Regions from separate parts of the Homo sapiens genome. Here regions 1 and 2 are each linked to region 3. Evidence: promoter capture Hi-C in 16 types of primary human blood cells and fetal thymus (Javierre and others, 2016). All regions are on one chromosome and are shown on one strand. Each heading gives the region's core, a stretch centred on a gene start or on the middle of the fragment in contact. The rest is flanking DNA. Distances are from core to core; before and after follow the strand shown.

The links. Contacts are between HindIII fragments. The CHiCAGO score rates a contact against its expected background, and 5 or more counts as called.
Region 1: a fragment that was not itself captured here is called in contact with the fragment with the promoter of KCNJ10 in region 3 in 1 of 17 cell types (endothelial precursors); the score reaches 5.1 in endothelial precursors.
Region 2: a contact is called between a fragment that was not itself captured here and the fragment with the promoter of KCNJ10 in region 3, in 1 of 17 cell types (neutrophils). The highest score is 5.0, in neutrophils.

What each region holds. Positions count from the first base shown.
Region 1 is chr1:159,156,022-159,160,837 of GRCh38, reverse strand. No RefSeq gene overlaps it. Among named protein-coding and RNA genes, the nearest start is that of CADM3, 13 kb to the left of the region's middle. The HindIII fragment of the contact is 2,208 bases long and covers 569-2,776 here.
Region 2 is chr1:159,175,021-159,179,841 of GRCh38, reverse strand. All of the region lies in intron 1 of CADM3 (cell adhesion molecule 3), which reads right to left. It also overlaps the pseudogene RNA5SP60. Among named protein-coding and RNA genes, the nearest start is that of CADM3, 5.8 kb to the right of the region's middle. The HindIII fragment of the contact is 3,418 bases long and covers 1,014-4,431 here.
Region 3 is chr1:160,067,407-160,071,771 of GRCh38, reverse strand. It overlaps KCNJ10 (potassium inwardly rectifying channel subfamily J member 10), which reads left to right and starts at 1,612. Exons shown (of 2, transcript NM_002241.5): 1 at 1,612-1,750. RefSeq lists a silencer at 1,421-1,650, a cis regulatory region at 2,145 and an enhancer at 2,061-2,230. The HindIII fragment of the contact is 4,127 bases long and covers 1-4,081 here.

The DNA.
Region 1 (4,816 bases), core at 423-2,922, 910 kb after region 3:
CTTGAACAACATGGATTTGAACTGTGTGGATCCACTTATACATGGATTTTTTTTTCAATAAATACAGTTTGCCCTCTGTATCTCCAGGCTCCATATCTGCAACCAAACAATATTCTCCGGATGGGCAAACTGCAGATAGGGAGGGCAGACTTTTTCTATATGCCAGTTTCCTGGTTCTGCTGGTTCCGCTGTTTTCACAGGGTCAATTGTAGATCTTGAGTATGTGCAGATTTTGGTATCCTGTGGCAAGGGTGTGGGCGTCCTGCAGCCAATCCCCAGCAGATACTGAGGGATGACTGTATTGTCGTAGATTATTTAATCATAAAAAGCTCTATTTTTCCCCCTGCAAACTCAAATCTGTTTAAGTTAATAAGGAAAAGTATACCTATTCTTGCCTTGTTAAAGGGTAATGATGGATCTTGGATAGACCCAGAATGTTAGCACTTCAAAGTGAGGATGTGTAGACAAAGAATATAACTGCTTTATCCCTTTCCTAATTGCATGGCATCTCTAGCACAGGGAATGAAGGATTATTTAGGATAGAATCAGTATACTGGTTTGAAAAGCTTTGTGGATGAAAAATAAGGGAAATCAATTTGATGAGATGGCTAGTTTAAACCAAATTTGGGAGGTGGGATTTGAAAACTAGACACTGAAGAGCTTTATCTTTATCCCAATGTCAGTTGGAAAAAAAATTGTAGCAGGACGTTATGTTGTTGAATTGGTATTTAAATATTAATTCTAAGATTCATTGTGGTAAAGATGGTAATTTTTAATTTATAAATTTGATGCAATACTATGCTAAATTCCAATAAGATATTTTATGGAACTTGACTAGCCTATTCTAACATTCCCTTGGAAGATAAAGTCAAGAGTAAATAGCCATAATTTTTTAAACACATGGGGCTAAGGGGGAGGATGATTTTCTAGCTATCCTAAGCAACTTTAAAATTATAGCAATTAAAACATGAAATCTTGGCACAGGAATACATAAATAGAACCATGGAGCAGAAGAGAGAGTGTAGTTACAAACCAACTTGGAAATTTAGTGTATGAAGAGTGCTACCTTCATTATATACTACACTTCTAATCAGTGACTAGAGGGTTGTACTGTTTAAAGACATTAGAATAATTGGTTATCTGTTTGTCAGTTGGTATGGGATAGGTTTAGCCTTTCCTTATGCCATATACGACAATATATTTCAGGTGGACTTGTGCTAAATTTTATAAACCAAACAACACTAAAAATGTTTGCAAAAACTGTCGAAAAATATACTTAATCTTAGAGTGGGAAAGACCTTCCTAAGCAAGACACAACACCTAGAGTCGATAAAGGAAAGGACCGATAAGATTTACTGCATAATTTTTAAAACTGATATAATTGCAGACCCATAGACAAAATGTAAAAGTAAGTCACAGACTGGGAAGATTTTATTTGCAATATATATGCCAAAGTATCAAAATTGCTAACATGCAAAATAGTCAGCAAATAAACATAAAAAAGACAAACAGTCCAAGAGAAAATTGGGCAAAGGATATGAGTATGAATTCTCAGAAAAAAAATACAGTTGTCTAATAAACATTTGAAAAGATGATCAACGGCATTTGGATTTTGAGAAATACAAGTTATAGCACCAAAGAGATCCTAGACTGTTAAAAAGCATCAAAGAACCCATCAGATTGTTAAAAAATTAAAATGATGGATAATACTCAGTGTTGGCAAGTGCTTAGGGAAATAGGCACCTTTATATATTGTTAGGGAGGATGTAAATTGGCACAGCCTTTTTGGAGATATTTTGGCAGAATGCATCAGAATTAAAAATAGAAATACCAGCAGTGCTATTTCTACAAATTATGCTATAGATCTGTTCACACATGAGTGCTCTGATTTATGTGCAGAGATATGCATCACATCATTTTTTTCCAGTAGTGAAAAATTGAAGACAACATAAATATTCATCAATAGTGAATTGGATAAATAGATTATGCTATATCATACTTTGTAATAACACATTGCAGTTAAAAAGAATGAGGTAAATTTATATCTACCAACATAGAAAGATACAGAAGGTATGTTGTTCAGTGAAAATACAAAGAAAATACACATACTGCTATCCCTTTTGTGTAAAATGGGAAAAAAGCATAAAACATATACATATGTGTATGTAAAATCTTATATGCATATAAATATGTGTTTAAGTAAATGAATAGTTACTTACTGGCTGTGTGACTTCAGGCAAGATACTTAACCGCCTCAGCATTTTTTTTCATTGTGTGGAAAATAGAGATAATTTTACATGACCCCTAGGGTGGTATGATGTGAAAATTAAATAAATTAATCTATTTAAATTGCTTTAAATAGCGCCTGGCACATAGTAGGCACTTGAGTGTTTCTATTGTTCAGATGCATATTAAACTTGGAAAATTATTTTCTGGGCCAGGAGTGAGACTTAAGTCATAAGGGGGACTATAATTGTCCATATTATATACTTCATATTTTTATAATGTGTGCCTATGTATTGAATGATTAATTTTTTTTAAATTAAATGCTTATTCTAAGAATATGAGTTAAAAGATGATTATAGAAATCCAGGAACAAAGTAAAAGAGTCCTGAGCAAGGGCAGTGGAATTGGGAATGGAAAAGAGGTGCTACGTTTGGTGTTGGTTATGGGAAGCAAGACAGAGGGAGAAGGCTGAGGCAGCTCTCAGTTTTGGCTTTTGAGTGACTTGGAAAATGCTGAACCATGAAAAGAAATAGTGGAATTAGGAGAAGCTTTTTGTGGGGTTTAGTATTTTGGAATGAAGGAGGATTAGTGTCTTACTTGAGGCTGCTAAAACAGAATACCATAAACTATGTGGCTTAAACAACAGACTTTGGTTTCTCACAGTTCTGGAGGCTGGGAAGTCCAAGATCAAGGTACTGGTGGATTTGATTCCTGTTGAGTGTCCTCTTCGTGGTTTGCAGACAGCCACCTTCTCAATGTGTCTTCACATGGTGGAAAAAGAGATTGTCTCCCTGTGTCTCTTCTTATAATGACACTAATTCCATTTATTAGAGTTCCACCTTCATGACCAAATCACCTCTCATAGGACTCACATCTAAATACATGAGGGATTAGAGTGTTAACATCTAAATTTGCAGGAGACATAATCAATTTGTAACAATTTTGTTAGATTACATTGAGTTTAAGCTGAGGGCAACCCATCAAGTAGGAAATATTGAATAGACTGGATATGAAAACTGGAGCTCTGGAGAAAGTTGAACGTTCTACCACTTTGAAGTAGACCAGCAGAAGAAGCCTAAAGTTCTCAGTGTCATTTTAAGAGTTCCCATCTAATACTTGCATTACAAAAATCAAGAACTGTGGTATTATAGGATGATATGTGTCTAGGAGGACAAAGACCTGTTCTAGTGGTTTTGATTGTTGATTCTTTTTCTTTGGTAAACATACATTGAACAACTACCATGTGCCAGGCACTGCCCAGACTATCAAGGGTAAAAAAACTCAAGTTTCTCTCTCTCTGGTAGGAACAGAGATTCACAAAATTGAGTACGTTACAGAGTGCTCAGTCCTCCGATAGCCATATGCACAGGGTGCAGTAATGGTGTGAAGATGGGTGTGATCCAGTCTGCTTGGGGTTGTGGTGGATGTCAGGGAAGATATTATAAAAAATGAGGTGATTGAAACTGAGTCTTCAAAGAGGAGGAACAGTCTTCCAGACAGATGTGAGGGTGGAGACAGGAGAAAGGCATTCCAAAAAGAGAAACCATTGCAGCATACCAAGTCATATTAGTATGGAAAACGAACCTTTTTTTTTTCATTTTGAGAACTCTAAGTACTTATTGTAAAATGTAAGCTGAGAGGGGAGGCTGGGGGATAATAGTAACTGATGTTGCAAAAATGGACGGGAATCAGATCACAGATGGCTTTTAGTCTCTTCTTTAGACAAGAGAGAACTTTAAGGGGTTTTGCCTTCAAGAAAAATTATAATTGCTCTGTTGGTGGTGTAGCTGATTGGCAGAAAGGCAGCAGGGATGGTTACACGTAGACAAGTGAGGGATTATTAACATATCAAATAGTCCTGGCTGCATCATCCTGATACCAAAGCCTGGCAGAAACACAACAAAAAAAGAGAATTTTAGACCAATATCCCTGATGAACATTGATGTGAAAATCCTCAATAAAATACTGGCAATCCAAATCCAGCAGCACATCAAAAAGCTTACCCACCATGATCAAGTCAGCTTCATCCCTGGGATGCAAGGCTGGTTCAACATACACAAATCAATAAACGTAATCCATCACATGAACAGATCCAACGACAAAAACCACATGATTATCTCAATAGATGCAGAGAAGGCCTTTGACAAAATTCAACACCCCTTCAAGCTAAAAACTCTCAATAAACTAGGTATTGATGGAAGGTATCTCAAAATAATAAGAGCTATTTATGACAAACCCACAGCCAATATCATACTGAATGGGCAAAAACTGGAAGCATTCCCTTATAAAACTGGCACCAGACAAGGATGCCCTCTCTCATCACTCCTATTCAACATTGTATTGGAAGTTCTGGCCAGGGCAATCAGGCAGGAGAAGGAAATAAAGGGTATTCAATTAGGAAAAGAGGAAGTCAAATTGTCCCTGTTTGCAGATGACAAGATTGTATACTTAGAAAACCCCATCTTCTCAGCCCCAAAACTCTTAAGCTGATAAGCAACTTCAGCAAAGTCTCAGGATACAAAATCAATGTGCAAAAATCATAAGCATTCCTATTCTCCACCAATAACAGACAGAGAGCCAAAACATGAGT
Region 2 (4,821 bases), core at 1,473-3,972, 890 kb after region 3:
CTGTAATTTTTGCATTTGCTGGGCAAAAAAAAAATGATTAGGAGCAGATGGTAAAACTGGCTTCTCATTTTATAATAACTCAAGAACTCAGCTCCAGGCTCTTCAGACTGACTGACTGCTATGCTAAGTTCCAAGTTACCTCTCATTGATATACTTACTGAAATCAGAATTGGAAGCAAAGCGCCAGGTCATAGAAGGGTAAAAGTAAAATATGAAACAAGAATCTGCATATTTCCAATAAAATCTGTTGTCAGAAGTACTAGTTCTTCATCCTACCTTGCCAGTATTTGGGAGTATATGAAGAAAGGGGAGAAATGAATAATGGCTAGCCTACAGATGAGTGCCTGAGACATCAGCCTTCATTACTTTTTCTTTTTTCTCTCTAGAGCAAGGTGATGCACCTGACCTTCTTGACCCTGAACTAGAAGTAAATGAGCCAAAGGTGCTTATAATTAGCAATCAATACACAGTTAGTGTAAGTCTAGCTGGGGAAAGGGAAAATAAATCCTTAGAGAAGACAACATTTTAGTTTGTTCTTTAAGTTATTTAGCTTTCTTATTGTTCTCTTGGAGACTTCCAAGAGAAAGAGAGAGAGAGAAGAGAATCTTGAAGAATCCCAGGGGTAAGAGTTCACATTAAAGAATGATATATGTGCTGAAAAATATGTTGAGATTTCTGTATTTGAGTCCTTTCTGAAACCTGCCTGCTCTTCATGAGAACAGGGGGCTTAGGAAGATGAGTAGATGGGAGACACTCCAGCTGTTACTATAACCCTAATTCTGTCTTGCTGAAGCCTCGCTCATAGAGATAAATCACTCTCATTACCTGTCCTTGAGGAATGAAGTTTCTCCTTGTTTCAAATGAAGAAATGAAAGAGGAGTCCTGGAAATTCATCCTGGAAGCCTGCCTCTCCAACTAGACTCTGCTGTAGGTCACTCATAAGTATTAACTATTATATTAACTCTTATCCATAAATTGACATGGGAAAATCAGCATTTAGGGGATGAGAAGCTTGTGTAGTTCTGATGCGATGTGAAGAACAGGCTGGCTAATCTAAGACTGACGGGCTGAGCACTCTCAGCTCCCTACGCCGTTTGATATCATCAGCTTATTGGAAGGTACCCTTAAAGCATAGCAGAGTAGAGTTTAAAGATGCATCTACTGAGATATGGCCAAGGACCTGTGCTCTGGGAGAAGATGGTTATATTTAAAGCCATTTAGTTTTGTACAAGGTGGTTATAAAGGTGGGGAAGTTAAGTCAAGATTTTGATATTTGTTTTCTCCTATACATGTACTAACCAGGCCTAACCCTGCTTAGCTTCCGAGATCAGACAAGAGCCGGTGCGTTCAGGACGGTATGGATGTACACTTGATACTTGCTTTCTATGCCTCTCATTTACTGGATTCCTCCATTATCTATTCTGATAACCCATTGTTATGTATTGTCTTTGCTAAGGTTGAGGGAAAAGGGTAAAAAAGCACCATGACAGGAAAGTTAGAGTTGGTTGTCATGCTCAGAGTGCTATTAAGAGGTACATGTTTATAAACTGGGTAGGATTCATTTTACATTCCACACTTATAGTGTATACAGTCAATCCTGCATATACATGGGTTCCACCTCCATAGATTCAATCAATTGCAGATTGAAAATATTTTTAAAAGCTGTGCCAGTACTAAACTTGTATAGACATTTTCCCCTGTCGTTATTGCCTAAACAATACAGTAAAACAACTATTTACATAGCATTTAGATTGTATATGGTATTATAAGTAATCTAGAGATAACGAAGTATACAGGAGAATGTGCATAGGTTATATGCAAATGCCACTCCATTTGATATCAAGGACTTGTGCATCTGCAGATTTTAGTATCTGTGGGAGGTCCTGGAACCAATCCTTCATGGATACCAAAGTACAACTGTATATTGTTATCATATAAGAGCAATACTATCTCAATCTAAAACAGAACTATATATAGTTGTATTTTTAATCTATGAATCCAGATATGACAAAACATTCAGTTCTTTTGAGGCCATTTGAGGTCACTGTAGGCCACAATTTCCTGAGCATCTTACAAAAACCTTCTAGCACTTCTTTTTTAACCTAAGAATTGCTTGCCCTTCTGTTCCCTTTCTGCAGTTGATCAGATGGCTGTGAGGACTTTCTAGATCTATATCTCAGAGTTTTGTCATGTGTTTGTGGTGGAACAGGTCGGGGAGCATAACCAAGAACCTGTGTGTTTGTGGTGGCAGGGAGGGAGATTTCAGCCCTGTTCTGGGGACTGCACTGTGGAGAATAAGGAGATTATGAAACTTGGAGGTAAAACAGGACCATGGAGAGCAACAAGAAAAGCCTGGAGTGTCACTGTCAGGGGCTAGCACCATGGAGAGCTCAAAGCACAGGTATAATAGTTTGCTCCATAAAGAACAGGGGAACTGGGATCACGGGGTAAGGCAGCCAGCTCTCAAGCACAGGAACTAAAAGAACAGACATCATGGCTTCTATTAGGATCACTCTACGCTCATCACTTGCTCTATAAGGCCTCCTGAAGTGCTTTATTTGAACCTGTCTGGTTGATACACAGTCAAGAGACTGTGCTGAAAAATGAGGACCACCACCAGACTCAGTTTGTCAACATGATCTTCTGTGATTATGTTAAATACCTAGATATTAGTGGTGATGGAGGGGCTTTTAATGTGCTACAACTTACCGTGAGTAAAATTAGGCCTATCTTCTAAAGAGGGAACAGAGAGCCTGTGCCCCCTCAGAGACAGTAGGATGCAAGAAAGTCAAAATATGTATTTTCGTCAGGTAGGGTATGAGACGTATCAGACTCAGAATGTCCCAATGTATCCAAAATTGCTGTAAGTAGTTCAGACAATCACACTAGAAGAGAGGTATGGAATCATGCCTCTTAAGAAGAGTATTGTTCTCAGGATTTAGAAGTTTCTCTGTTAGTTGAGGAATTTGATGACGGCCTTAAGGCTTAGGAAAATTTTGGTAAAGAAAGAAATGATTCTTTAGTAGTTGCTGCTTCAGTGAAGAATATGTACCTTTACTTCTTAGCATCTTAGCTTCTATTGTGTAAAAATCTCAACAGATTCATGCGTTCAAGCCTCTTGAGAGCTCGACTTCTCTGTACTAGAAGGGATGGATCTTCTTGTCATATATAACAGAATTGGACTGGGTTTTTACTTGGGTAGTTATTGGAGCCCTGGGCACCAGCTGGTTCTGACCTTGTAAAAAATCATCACTACTGCTGATCCCAGAGGCAGAAACAGGTCTCTAGCCCTGGAAACTTGTTCTTCTTCATTTTATGATGACCTGAAGTATTTATACTTAATCGGAGCAAGTTCTTAGAAACAGAATCTTTTTCTGATGGCTTGCTTCTCCAGGGTCCTTTTCTGATGGTTTGTTTCTCTCTGTCTTTTGTAAGCATTTCCATGGGGATTGCTATTCTCAGAGATTAAGGGTGGACCTCTAAAACAAGACCCCATACAGGAAACAAAATGTTCTAGTACATGGGCCTATAGTCAGTGTTAAACATGAAACATTACATTCTAACATGAAAAATAAAAGAAAATATAATTACCAAAACTTTATAATAACTTTGAATTTTTCACTCAGTAGTCAGTAAGTAGCTGGTCCAATCCACAGCTTGCTTTCAACAAGAATCTGGAACCTAGATCACCATCCTTAGGTAAAATTCCATTACTGAGAATTAGATGACAAAAAAGGGATTGTTGAGCCAGTATGCAGTTCCACTGGAGTAGGAAACAACAAAGAATAAGACTAGTCACAGCCCCAGGGGTTTTCTTTCTCTGGTGATATTTTTTCCTACCAAGTGATTTAAGGAAAATAAACTTTTGATCCTGTTTTACATATTATTTGGACTGCAAGAAAGTAGTAACATCAAGAAGTACCAAAATCAAATCTAAGAATTTACAGAGCAATGGCACAACCTCTCAGTTTGTTATTTCAAAGTAACCAGAACGCCAAAGCGATGCTGTCTCTGGAATTTTATGGCTGCAGAACTATGAGTCACTCTCTCCAAGTGAATAGTGAATATCTCCAACAAGGCACTCTTGCAATTAGATTTGGACCTTCTTTCTTCTTCAGTTGGAAGAGGAAAGAGAAAGAGCCTAAGGGTAGTAAGCTGGCTCATTCTATCAGTCTAGGACAGAGGATTTTGAACTGTGTGGTAGAACCCCAGGTAGTTCCTTAAGGATTATAAGAATGTGTAAAAGCCAGTAAGACAGGGAAAAGGGATATAGGTCTTACTTCACCATTTCAACAACAGCATTCTCCTTTGATATGTTTTCCTCATTTGTTAAAAATGTCTCACATCTTTGTTTTAAAAACAAATGAGAAAACTGCTGCCCTAGAGGAAACTATTAAAACTAACAGTGCTATCCAGATCTATGGAGAAGCTTAGAATAGAATGGCATAACTGCTGGGTAGGCAGTTGACGTTACATACATTAGGACCTACATGAAACACACTGATTCTTCATGGAATTAACTAAACTCTGCTATGCAAGTGTCTCTGTGATGGTCTTAACTTTTCTGTGCCAGAAAATGCACATGTCTAAAAGGAGAGCATATCCTTCCCAAGAGTTACAGCTGCAACTAGGAGGAGAACAGGAACAGCAACAGAACAGTTACAGCTGCAACTAGGAACAGAAACTGGATGGAGTTGATCTGCCAAACAGATCTGTGGACAGCACTAGAGTGAATGCCTGCTGGACTTCTGTGGCACATTGGGCATGATGTCCTCACTGGGCATCTGGCCAGGGGGCTGTAGAATGAATGGTAGTGGACAG
Region 3 (4,365 bases), core at 363-2,862:
TTTCTTTTGATTTTTCTGTACTCCAATTCATTTTCTGTGTTCCACTTTTCACCATTGCCACGCTGATTTGGGCTGTCATCTCTTCATGCTTATATTATTGCAATTATTTTCTATCGTCTACTTGCCTACTATATCCACTTGGTTCAAACTATTTTGTCACCTCCCGATTAATTTTCCTAAAATGCCATAGCTTTCTCCTACTCCATCCTTCCCAAGAACCTTCAATTGCTCTCCGTAGCCTACAGAAACTCTGGCCTGACCACAAATCAGCACAACTCTGTGTTTCTTCCGGATGTTCCCCTTAACACAAACACTGCCTATGGTGCCTAACCTTTAGTCCCGTCCTTCCAGCTTCTCCAATGAGGCTATTTGAATGGACATTTACTTATCTTATGGCTTTTAGTGGTTAAACTAAGCTACATTCCTAGTTTCTTTCCTTTTTTTACCTGAATTTATAGCAATTCAATATGGTAACACTGGTTATTGATTAGCAGTTAAATGTTTATGATGATCAGAAATGAGGAAATAATTATATTCTTTTTAAATAAATGCTGGGGGTGGGGGTGAATTAAAACCTCTCAACACATAGATTCAGAAAATTAAAGAAATCTTTGGTGATGAAAGGGTTGAGAACCATCACCCTGCACTCTAATCTAGTAAATGGGACAGTTTGATGCTGTTTCCCAAGTGAACTTGTATTTTCACGTCTCCCCAGGACTCTGCTACGTTGTTCCCTCTGCCTTAAATGCAACAGAGTCCTGGGGACCATCTCTCAGCACCTGAATCTTCTGCTTCCTTTGGGACCCTAATCAGATGTTACCTCTTTCCTCCCACATCTGCTAGGAGCCCTCTGAGTAGAATGACCTCTCCCTTTTACAGCCTTCAGTACCTCCCGCACTTCGCTGAGGGTTCCGGCCTTATCTTTCCTTACAGAGAAAGCCGCTGCAGGTGGGCACCGTGTGCTGCGCGTCTCTCACCCAGCACCGCACCGGGGACTTAGGAGACGGTGAACAACACGGGAATTGTGCCCAAAGATACAGTCCTGTGGCTCAGGGAGCCCAGGCCTACTCCGCCCCAATCTCACTTCCAGGCGCCGCCTTCGGCGCTGCCTGCAGGGCCACTGGGCCGGTCCTGAATTCATTTCCACTTCGTTAACTCGGTCCCAGTCCCGCCCCCCGGCTCCAGCTCTCGTAACCCATCGCTGACAGGACCGCCTCCCTTTTCTTCCTTCTCCCTTCCCCTGTCACCCTGCCAGCTCAGCTCCTATCGTTTCGCATATCGTCTCTTCATCTCTCTTTCTCCCCGGGTCTGTCTGGGTCTCTGTCTTTGGATATTTCTCTCTGCGCCTGCAGCTGTCTGGGTCTCCGCTTCCTTGCCCCGCACGCCCCGCCCCCTGCCCAAGACCCTCCAATCTCGGCGGCTCGAGCCTGGCGCTCCACTCTCCCATTGGTCTGTTCGGAGCCCCCCGCCCCCGCCTGCCCGGCCCCCCTCCGGGCCCCTCCATTCACACAAAGTTTGGCTCCGGCGCTGCGGAGGGAGGGGGCGGCCCGGCCCGGCCCAGCTCTGCCCCCGGCCGGCCCGACCCCGGCCCCGGCCCCCGGACAAGCCCTTATCTGATCCCAGCTCCGGGTTTAAGAGTCCTGGCCCGGCCCGTCGCACAGCTCTGCTCCTAACTCCTGCCCGCCCCGTCCGTCCATCTGTCCCGCTGCCCCGCGGCCCATCCAAGGGGCCACTCCACCTCGGACCCAAGGTAAGACCCTGGCCCTGATGAAGGAGTTCTGCCGCCCCGGCCGGGTCCTGTCCCCCTAACTCTCCAGAGACATCGGGGTCCCAGATCCTCAGTCCCTACCCTGCCTGGCCTCAGCGGTACCACCGTCTTGTTCCCCTGCCTCCCGCCTTGGGCAGTCCCAAATGGAGCCTCCTGGGAAGGGCTCCCCACGAGGAAACTAGCCAGGCTGGTCACCTCAGCCCTTTCATCTAAGGAAGGGGCTTTCCCGATGCCCCCTCCCACTGGGCAGACCAGCAGTTGCATCCCTGCTCCTCTAGTTAATACAGTGACAACCACACATAACCAGGCACCCCATACACAGGCACAACAGACAGTGCGCCCTCCTCCCCATATGGACAGGTTACTCCCATCCCCAGCCCCTCCCCCACTCCCCATACAGTGACAATCACATAGTGACACCCATGATCGCTAGTTCCCACATGGGGAGAAAAACAGATACTGGCAGCTTAAACCGGGGAGCCACCAAAGCCTGGTGTGCTCCAGACCCCTGCCCACCCAATCTCTTCCTTCTATTCTGAGTGGCTCCCATTTTAAGACATCCCTCCTCATGGCCCCTCACCCTCACCCCAGCTGTTTCGCACTGGGATTTCCAGAAGGAAAGGAGCAGGGCCACTTCTGCTAGAGTGAGAAGGGCAGATTGGGTTCTATAAACTCACCCTCCAGATGGAGACGCCCCTTCCCATTCCATTCCTCCTCTCATCAGAACTAACCCAGGGCACCTGTGTTAGGGAACAGATGAAGGATGGAACTTCCTGATTTGGGGGAGGAGAGCTGAACCCAGGAATGGGTAGAAGGACAACACTGGGAAAAAGTGAGGGTGGGTTCTGGTGTCTTGAAGTTTAATTCCAGTGAGTGCCCCAGGCAGGGTGAGGCAGATGGGGAAGAAGCTGGTGCAGATTTGGACCCCAAAGAGGCCAGTGCTTAAAGCCTGCTTCTGTTGCTTACCAATACAAATTCTGACTAAAGATGTCTGGCCAGTCTGCTCTTGCTGTGGTGTTTGAATTTTTTTTCTCCCCACTGGGACTGCTTTAGGCTGCCTGGGTGGGAGGGAGATAATGACAGGAGATTTAGGGCCCCCATGTGAGAGATGGCCTTGTTTAAGGGTGCTGAGGAGGGCCTGGAGTGGTTGTCATGAAATTAGCCCCAGGAGGGGTGGGCAGCCACCAGTGAGTTCAATTTAGTTTCATCCTGAAACTCTCTCCCTAATCTCCAAGGATTTTTGAACATATTCCTGGCATGATGGTGGGTACCATCCTGTGCCAAGTGGTAGGGCTTGTAAATTTCTCTGGGGGTAGACTGGGTATAGGGGACCAAGTTTGGAAGGAACCAGGCATCCTGACTCATAGCTGGTTCTTCAGGGAGGAAGAAACGAGGGAGGAGGGGGATGGAAGGCATCATGCCAGGGAGAGGGTCCAGGGCTGGATTGTGGAGGCAATAGGCACGGCCCAGGCAGTGCCAACTCCTTTCCCCGCTGCCTTCCCCCAGTCCTTTGGTGGTGGTGGCAAGGGAGGAAGGGAGGGAGAGGGTGTTGGGGGGTGATCTGGGCTGGTCCAGCCTCCCAAAGCCCTTGCCAACCTGGGTCCTGAAAGGAGCTGCTGTTTTCTGAGCCATCCCCCCACCCCCCACTCAGAGCCTGAGCAGCCAAGTTGTCTCAGCGGATATCAAATGGCAATGACTCCACCGATGGAGGGTGGGTGGGGAGTGGGAGTGGCAGGGGTAGCAGGGTTATGGTTCCAGCCCCTCTGTGGCTCTAATGCAGAACCCCTCTGCTATCCCTTACCCTGAGGAAAAAATAAATCCATCTTCCCCAACATCTGACCCACATCCAGTCTATGGGTGCATATGTTTGTGTGAGGGGATTAATGATCTGCCCGCTGGTATCCCCTACCTCCTCCGTGTGCCCCATTGAACCACATTCTAGCTCCCTCCCACCTGCATCACTGTGCATAAGCTCATTTACAGCTCCAGCTTGGTTGGCTTGAGCTACAAGGAAGTGACTGGCAGAGGACCCGGGGACCTTCCTTCCCTTGACCTTCCTTGGGACCAGAGAGGCTGGGACACTTGGATCACGGTGGGCTCAGATGAAGTCCTCTGGAGTCATTCTGTGATTGGCAGGATAGGGGGTTTAAAGCTCTAGGGGGTGGGTCATGCAGAAAGATCTGTTTCCTCAAAGGATACTCCTGAGCCTCCTGGTAAAACTCTTGGTTTCTGCACACAAGATGGAAAGATAGGCCGAGCCTCCTGGCATTGGTGGGGAGGAAAAGAGACATTGGGCAATGGAGTCCCTAAGCTTTCCAGCCACAGGTTATTTAGGACGGAAGAAAAAAACCTCCACTCTCCCTCCCCTCCTCGGCCTAGATTCTTCTCTTGCCTGACTGGTCAGTGCTACTGTCCAGGCTGAGGCCAAGCTGTCCAGGATAGCAGTGGGGCCCTGGAAGGGGGCAGAGAAGGAATCAGCCAAGGCACATCGTTGAGATGAAACTACAGAAAGATTGGAGAGGAAAGGGAGATTTAAAATCTAAGTGTTTTAGCACCCAATGGTGGGTGGTTGGCTGGGCAGCTCCTGGGAATGGGAG